Regions from separate parts of the Homo sapiens genome. Here regions 2 and 3 are each linked to region 1. Evidence: promoter capture Hi-C in 16 types of primary human blood cells and fetal thymus (Javierre and others, 2016). All regions are on one chromosome and are shown on one strand. The core of a region is centred on a gene start or on the middle of the fragment in contact, and the rest is flanking DNA. Distances in the headings are between cores, read along the strand shown.

The links. Contacts are between HindIII fragments. The CHiCAGO score rates a contact against its expected background, and 5 or more counts as called.
Region 2: a contact is called between the fragment with the promoter of RPE65 here and the fragment with the promoter of WLS in region 1, in 3 of 17 cell types (monocytes, neutrophils and naive B cells). The highest score is 14.3, in monocytes.
Region 3: a contact is called between a fragment that was not itself captured here and the fragment with the promoter of WLS in region 1, in 1 of 17 cell types (monocytes). The highest score is 6.1, in monocytes.

The regions. Positions count from the first base shown.
Region 1 is chr1:68,231,247-68,233,790 of GRCh38, forward strand. It overlaps WLS (Wnt ligand secretion mediator), which reads right to left and starts at 1,277. Exons shown (of 12, transcript NM_024911.7): 1 at 948-1,277. The coding sequence starts at 1,053. The HindIII fragment of the contact is 11,043 bases long and covers 1-2,544 here.
Region 2 is chr1:68,448,704-68,451,247 of GRCh38, forward strand. RPE65 (retinoid isomerohydrolase RPE65) reads right to left here and starts at 1,251. Exons shown (of 14, transcript NM_000329.3): 1 at 1,192-1,251; 2 at 1-3. The coding sequence starts at 1,202. LOC124904198 (a long non-coding RNA gene) reads left to right here. Exons shown (of 2, transcript XR_007066164.1): 2 at 1-2,544. The HindIII fragment of the contact is 10,150 bases long and covers 1-2,544 here.
Region 3 is chr1:68,430,229-68,432,772 of GRCh38, forward strand. RPE65 (retinoid isomerohydrolase RPE65) reads right to left here. Exons shown (of 14, transcript NM_000329.3): 11 at 1,243-1,357; 12 at 1,054-1,148; 13 at 837-948. All of the region lies in intron 1 of LOC124904198 (a long non-coding RNA gene), which reads left to right. Among named protein-coding and RNA genes, the nearest start is that of RPE65, 18 kb to the right of the region's middle. The HindIII fragment of the contact is 4,785 bases long and covers 1-2,544 here.

The DNA.
Region 1 (2,544 bases), core at 27-2,526:
CCTGTTTGACTCAGAGAGGTCCGGGAGGTGCACGCCAGGGGAGGTCTCCCGGGGCGGGCGCTGTCGCCGAGGAGGCCGGCGAGCTGTCACCTGCGGGGGGCTGTGGTGGGAGCTGAGGGCGCTCTCCTAAGCGCCAAAAGAGGACGGGGACATTCACAGTCACCGGCTCTCGGGGCTCTAAGTAGTGGGGGAAGGGATATTCACGAGTGGGCAGGAGGCCAAAAGCAACACCTTTCGGATACGCTTTTCCCCTCCGACCTCTCCAACTTCCCGCGGCGCTGGTCAAGGACTCCCTCCCACCCCACCCCATCCCACCCAACCTCCCGGCCGACAATTCGGACCTGTCCACGGCAGAGCGTGGGGTGGAGTGCGGCGGGAAAGCAGAGGGCGCGAAGGTCGGGACCCCAAATTGCAAACCCTCAGCCCCTAGCAAAGACGACCAAATGCATTTACAACCGTGCAAGTATCTCAGCCTTGTAACAGAGCTCCGGGTTTGCGCCGGGCACAGTTCCCCGACTCTTCTGTTGTTCCTAATAAAGTCGATTACGTTGCCCTCCCGGAGCTGATTGGAAGGGAACCGAGAGGAAAAGGGGGGGAACGCGGGAAAAAGCGGGGGGGGGGGGGGGCGAGCAATCAACTTTGTAACCCAGCGCTTCCTCGCGCGATCCGTCGCCATGCTTAAGATTCCCACCCCCGCCGCCCCCCTCTTGCCTTTCAAGTGGATACTGAAACTAGGCCAAAACTTTTTCCCCTCCTTTTCTCTTAGCCACTAGACTGGATTGTGCCCCACGGAGCCCCATGGAGCTCTGCTTTCTTAAGCACAATAGCCGGACTAATTAGATCATAGAAGCAAGGCAGTGATACTGTAACAAGTAGCCCAAGAGGCAAAGAGGGAAGGGGCCCGAAAAGACAGAAAGGGGGAAAAGTTTGCAGCTCTCCGCACTTACCAATCAAGCCTCCCACCAGAAAGGCGATGATTTGGAACACGAGCAGAATCCCACCAACAATGCACAGCTTCTTGGTGCTCATGTTTTCTATAATTGCCCCAGCCATTTTTGCGCCCCCCCTTTTTCTTTTCTCCTTGAAATAAATGTTTTAGGGTGAGCTTTTTGCTCCCTCCTCTCACACACTCCCTCCTTCCTCGCCTCCTTTCTGGGCGCTGCAAAACTTCAGAGGTGCTGGAGCGCGGCGAGGATGGGACCGGGACGGAAGGCGCCCGCACGGATTCCCCCGGCGCAGCCGGCTCGGGTTCCCCCAATGCCCGGAGCTGTGATTGTGGCCGCTCCGCCGCCTGTGGACGCTTAAAGGAGCAGGGAAGCGGATCACATGACGCCGCCTCCCTCCCTTTCTTCCTCCCTCCCTCTCGCGCTTCCTCCCTCCCTCCCTCCCTCTCTTCCTCTACCCCTTGCCCACCAGTTCGGGGCTCAGAGCTCTGGCGGGTGCTGGCGCCTGGCTCCCGAGTCTGGCCTGCAACCTGTCTCTCCAAGGTCTGATGCCATTTAGGGGTTGCTGTTGATGTTAAGCGGGTTCCCCCTGCCCAGCTTCTCACAGGTTTCCTTTTCTGGTTTCCGAAGTGCGAGATTTAAATCACCGGTGGACCGCCTTGCAGACCTTTAACTTACGCGTTGACTTTAGGAAATGGTCCCCACCCCACCCCCAACTGCTAGAACTCTCTTTAGGAAAGAGGAGGAGAATTTTTTTTAAAAGGACCCAATAGATGCCTAAGTCAAAACACAGAGATGCGGAATAAAGTCTCAGCTCGACTTCTTTCTACCAGATTCCCAGCCTCGGTTATTGGGCACATACCCAGCTAAATTCCCCACGGCGCCCCTTGAGGAAACTTGCTCTCCAGCCAAATCAGACCACTGTTCGTTACTCCAGCACATGTGCTTCCACAGCCTTAACCCTGGTTATTGCCTTAAAGAGAACATGTTCTACTCCATCAATGTTAAACCTGATCCAAAACCAACTAGTGTTAAAAAATCTTTCTAATTTTCCACACCACCTCCATGCAGTATCTCTGGGAACTGAGCCCCTACAATCCTGTATTTACATTTTTACCTCCTATTGTAAGGATTTGTGTACACGTTTGTCTCCACCACTGAGCTGTAAACTCCTGGGGAATAGGGACCAAGTTTTTTTTGTTCTTTGTACCCCCCATGGTGCCTAACAAAATGCTAGCTCTAGTAGGTGCCCCATAATCTTTTGTGGAATGAATAAGTGAATGTGAAAGCAAGCCCACAGTTTGTATTTCAAAGGTCTAAAGAGATCTTAGTTGGTTTAGAGGGTACCTATATTAAGTTACAATGTTTGTTGTCTCTTTGTGAGAAATCATATATTTATATTTATACTTAACTTCCATAAAAAGAGGGGCGGGGCTCCCGATAGAGATTTCCTGCTCTATCAAGCCTAAATTTCTGGGCCTGGTTTTTCCATGTTTCATAAACTGGCCGCTTGGCCAGTACAACTCACCTTACTCAATAGACCCTTGGTTTGGTAAATACCCCACCCTGCTCCCCAAACGTGCAGTTTCTACCACCACCA
Region 2 (2,544 bases), core at 1-2,500, 220 kb after region 1:
ACCCTGAAATGGTGGAAGAATAAGGAAGAAGCCCATGTTGATGCTCAAAGTCCGCAGAGATAGAGGCAGAGCTGCAGGAGAGAAGGCACTCTAGGGCTGGCTCAAAGCCTGTTCACTCCTGCCGGTCTAGTCTCAGCTGGGTGGGGGTGGGGGTGGGGGGAGAAGCGAAGGTGAGGGCGGGAGGAGCACGTGAGGCTGGGGGTGGGGAAGACTACTCAGGTATGGAAGGGGGTCCCAGATCACTGCTCTGATGTCAAGAGACATGACCTCTCTTTTAATGTCAATGGTTACAGTGAACTTAATCCTGTCCTCTGCAGTTTTTCCTTACTTCGGAAGACAAATCAATCAATCCTACTGCCATCAGTTCACTTCCTGAAATTTGTTCCTAAACAGGGTCCTTCCCACAGTATTCTCCCACCCTATCAACATGCTCAGCTCACAGCATCATTGATTTTCTTGCCTCAAGGAGAGACCCATTTATCTCCTTCCTAGGGGTTGAGAGATGACAGCTTTTTGGGTCAGGTACCTCATCTTTCATTATTCACTCATATTATACCATAATTTTTTCCCCATCATCTCATTTCTCTACCAATCCCCAAGACCTACAGTACTTTTTCATCATAGTCAGACCAGGAGATTCAGGTTCTATATTTTTGTTTACTTTCTACATCCTCTGTTCAGTTTCATGTTGTAACTTCAAAGAGTGGAATCTCTGACCAGACTCAATTATAATAATTACCTTTTACTAAACAATTACTATGTCCTACATACCATAAAAAGAACTTTGCATGGTATTATCTCTTTTAAATCTCACAGTAACATAATGGAGTAAAAGCTATTGTGACATCTTTCTATATACAGGAAAAGCTAGACTTAAAAAGTTAGGTAATTTGTCCAAAGTCACACACTAGGAAATGACTGGGCAAGGAGTGGAGCCCAAGTCTGTCTGAAATCCCCATACTCAAGACTGCTTCCAAACCCCGGGCTAAGTCACACAAACCCCCCATAATTTGGACCTGAATTCTAGCTAGTTGCTTTAATACATAAGCAGGAAAAAATTTCCCCACCAAAATTCAAGGGTCTTTCCTAAACAGGTCATTAATCAATGCCTTCTCTTCAGGAGCCCTTGAAATAGCACATTTATCATGAATCCATGAAGGTGTTTTAAAAAAGTCTCCCAGAGATACTTACTGGATAGACATTTTCTTCCAGTTCAGGATCCAGAGTTCTGGCACCAACTGCAGAATGAAGAAGGAAGTTCTCAGCCAGGGGCCTTTTTATGCCTTCTAAATCCCTTAAAAGGAGTTATGGCTTTGGGAGCCCTTCCCCACCCCTTCAGCTGAGGGAGGGGGAACAGAAGTTGCTTTCAGCTCTCAGATCCCCCTGATGCTTGGCTTTATTTGGGCTTGCTGTTCCCATAACAGTTGTTTGGCTGTTTTCCAGAGACCTCAATCCTTCCCAAGGAGAATGAGAACAGATTAGAAAGAAAGGAGCTAGGTGGGAGTGGCCAGCGTCAGGCCTGAGCTGATCCCAGTCACCCCACTGGACCTTGGCACCATTCTCTGGGGCCCACCTCCCCCTAATACCTCTGTGCCTTCATTCTCACCCTCATTCATTAACTCACTTATTTTTAAAAATATCTATTACATACCACCTATGAACCAGACAGAGATGGGTATTGTCCCTGTCCCTGTCTTCACAGATCTTATAACTCTGTAAGAGTTATAGTAAACAAAGTATTCAACCATGTTTGATTAGTGCTAAGATTGGAGAAGTATAAAATGTTATGGAAGCACATTGTGCACCTCTAACCCTCTCTAGCAACCTTATTGATACCATTCAGTGCCAATATTCTTCCAACCAGGTTGAGGACTTTTGATTTGCTGAGAATGAAATTCTGCATATCTTTGCTTGTCACTAATGCCTGTCTGCTCTCTGCCTCACCTTCTTGTCCATTGGTATATGTTTGGCACTCTGAGAGTATACAGCATCAATTCATTCATATCTCCAATACTCTTTCATTAAGTCTCAGTTGCTTGCCAGCACAGACAAGGTACTGCCCAAAGAAGTCCTTGGAAAACAGGCAAGATATATACTATACCAGCTAACAACCTTAACATTTTTTTTGAGAAACTCATTAACAATTTTAAATTTAGTGTGCAGTTATGGCTACTTACCCTAGGGGTCTTCTTCAACAAAACTGTATAACAATTAATCCAAGTGCTTCCCAAGATATACAACAGTAGCTTCATTTCCTTACAGTGAGGGCATAGGCATGTGATGGGCTCCACCCGTTAGGGACAGTGGTAGAAGTCCTAATGGTAGCACCTGGGGCTTAGCATCCATAATATCTCTGCCCATCCAAGGCAGTTGTAGTGTCTCCATTCAACAGTGGAGCCCGGAATATTGTTACTGGCTGGGTAGCCTCCAAGCTCCATCCTTTAGCCATCCCAGAGATTGTTAGCTCTCTAATATTTACAATATTTGCGTTCTGCTTTATTAGAGTTAGTTCCATTATTTGCAGCTAAGAGCCCTATGCCTATA
Region 3 (2,544 bases), core at 14-2,513, 200 kb after region 1:
TCACTGAATAAATGGATCTGTTCTTATCTGTAACATACAAATATAGCACCTGCTGTACATACTGTAAAAACTGTGATGATCACATGAAAAGTGTGTATTAAAAGACTTTGAAAGCAGTAAGATATATCATATGTATGGTTTCTAAGATCGATCTGGAAGCTGACTTCCTTCGAACAAAATGAGAACAAATCTTTTACAGCTTCGACTGGATATATAAAATCATTTAGTGTGAAATGGCTCCACAATTCTTTATCTCATTTCTCTTAGTTTTCCATATTTTAATCCCATAGAGTGTAATCTATCTCCCTGTCCCAGCTGAGAAGCAGTTAACTAACACTGCTGATTTGTAATTTGAGTTGCTGTATCTGAGTTGCTGGTGTGGCTCTGGGTCTTTTTTCAAGCCCTAGCTTACCGAAAGAACAAATGAAAACTATTCACAGACCTGCCTTCTCATTCTCTTGTATCTGCTATAATACTTAGCTTCCCTTCTTAGAATTGCTATTTTTTTAGAAATATGTCTTCGTCAGGGAAGGCAAAAACCTGGAATTCATGTTGCCATTTTTTCTTCCTTCTCTCCCTCATCTAGAGCAGACATTGATGCTCCATCGTGACACCAAATGGTGCTTTGACATTTTTTTCTACTGGTAATCAACAAGACCTGATCAAAAGATGAAAATTCTTTTCAAATAGTTTTAATTCTTCAGTACTGCTCTATTTATAGTATTAAGGATCGTTTTTGAGTATTACGGAATAATCAACCTTACTCCTTTCCTAACGAACTAACATACAGAACTGCAGTAAGAAGAGTATTCAGACACAACAATTGCTTTCATTACCATCATCTTCTTCCAAGGCATCTGGGTGAGAAACAAAGATGGGTTCTGATGGGTATGAATCAGGCTCTTGCCAAACCCAAGTTTCTTTAGTTTTGACATTCAGCTTACAGAGCTGTTTGTGAGAAAGAAAAATCAATCAAGCAATCAGTCAATATGCTTTACTTGACTAGCATATACTCAAAGCACTGTTCAAATATTAGTAAGAAGGATTAATTACCCTATCTGGAACAAAGTGATTCAAGCCAAGTCCATACGCATATGTGTAAGGTTTCCCACAATACTTCTGGTAATTGATTTGAGGAAACTCAAATGCTACGAAATAGAGCACATGCTTAGGAAAACTCTTAATCTCTTTGAAAGAAACATTTGTTCACTCCCGTGTGAAGTTTTCTCTAGATCATCTCACCTTGACGAGGCCCTGAAAAGAGAACTTCAGGCTCCAGCCAGATAGTCTCGTCACTGCACAGAATTGCAGTGGCAGTTGTATTGGGGAGCGTGACTAAATTCTTGCCTGTGTCAGCCTAGGAGAGAAGATAACAGAAACCTCAGTGAGCAGGAAAGAATTCAAACAGCCAGAAATGCAGAGTTCTTAAGTCTTGGCTCCTAAGTTCTTTTTTAGGTCAACATGCAGGGAGGAACTGCAGGAAGCTATAGATGAGGGACCCTGGGACGCGACTGGGCAAGCTATCTGTGCCTGTGTCAGTCACTGGCTATGTATCACTGGGAAAGTCACATAACCTCTTAGGCCATCAATTTTCTCTTCAGTAAAATGAGACCATCCTTGAAGAAAATTTAGGGCTCCAAAGAAAGGCCTCTGAAAAACAAAAAAACAAAAACCAAACAAAAATCTCAAAACCAATAATAATAATAATTAATGTTTTTCTGCAGAACAACAAAGACTTCGACTGCCTGAGGGATGAAAGAATGTATATTTCGTTCACACGTAGAATATGTTTTGATTTTGCTTGAAAAAAAAAATCCTTACAGTTATGTTGACAAAAAGAAAAAAAAAAAACGCTGGACCATATGTTTCCTAAGATCTCTTGTCACACACACATGATTTTTCTGATTATTTTATGAAATACCATGAGATTTTTCTAACATATCTACTTATTAATAATTTCATCAAATACTTGATTACATATTTTATTCTAGACTCTATTCTTGGCATTCAGGATGTTTTGGAGAGTGAAGTCCCTGTCCTCATGAAGCCTACATTCTAGTTCAAGGAGATATACAATAAATATAATTAATAAATTTTATAATATACCACAAATGTGGGGGAAAAATAGAATAGAGGAAAAAAGATCAGAAACGTGAAGGGTAAGCGGTTAAAATTTGAATAGATGGTTCGGGTAGGTCTCTTTGAACAGGTGGCAGAGGAGACAAAACTCTTAGAAGATGAGAGAATTAGCAATGCAGATATCTGGGGAAGAGTGTTCACGCTAAGAGAACAAATTGTGCAAAGGCCTGAGGGAGGAGGATGCTGAGTGTGTTTGAGGAGCATCAAAGAGTCCAGTGTGGATTCTATCAACTGAGCTAGGGGAGAGAATAAGAAAGGAAGGTGGGGAGGTCACGAGCCAGGCTGTACAAAGCCTCGTAGGTCATTATGAGGACTTGATCTTTCTCTGTGAGTGAGTGATGGGAAGCCATTGGAGGGTTTTCAGCACAGGAGTGAGATGCTATGATTTATTTTTAGGGTAGCCTT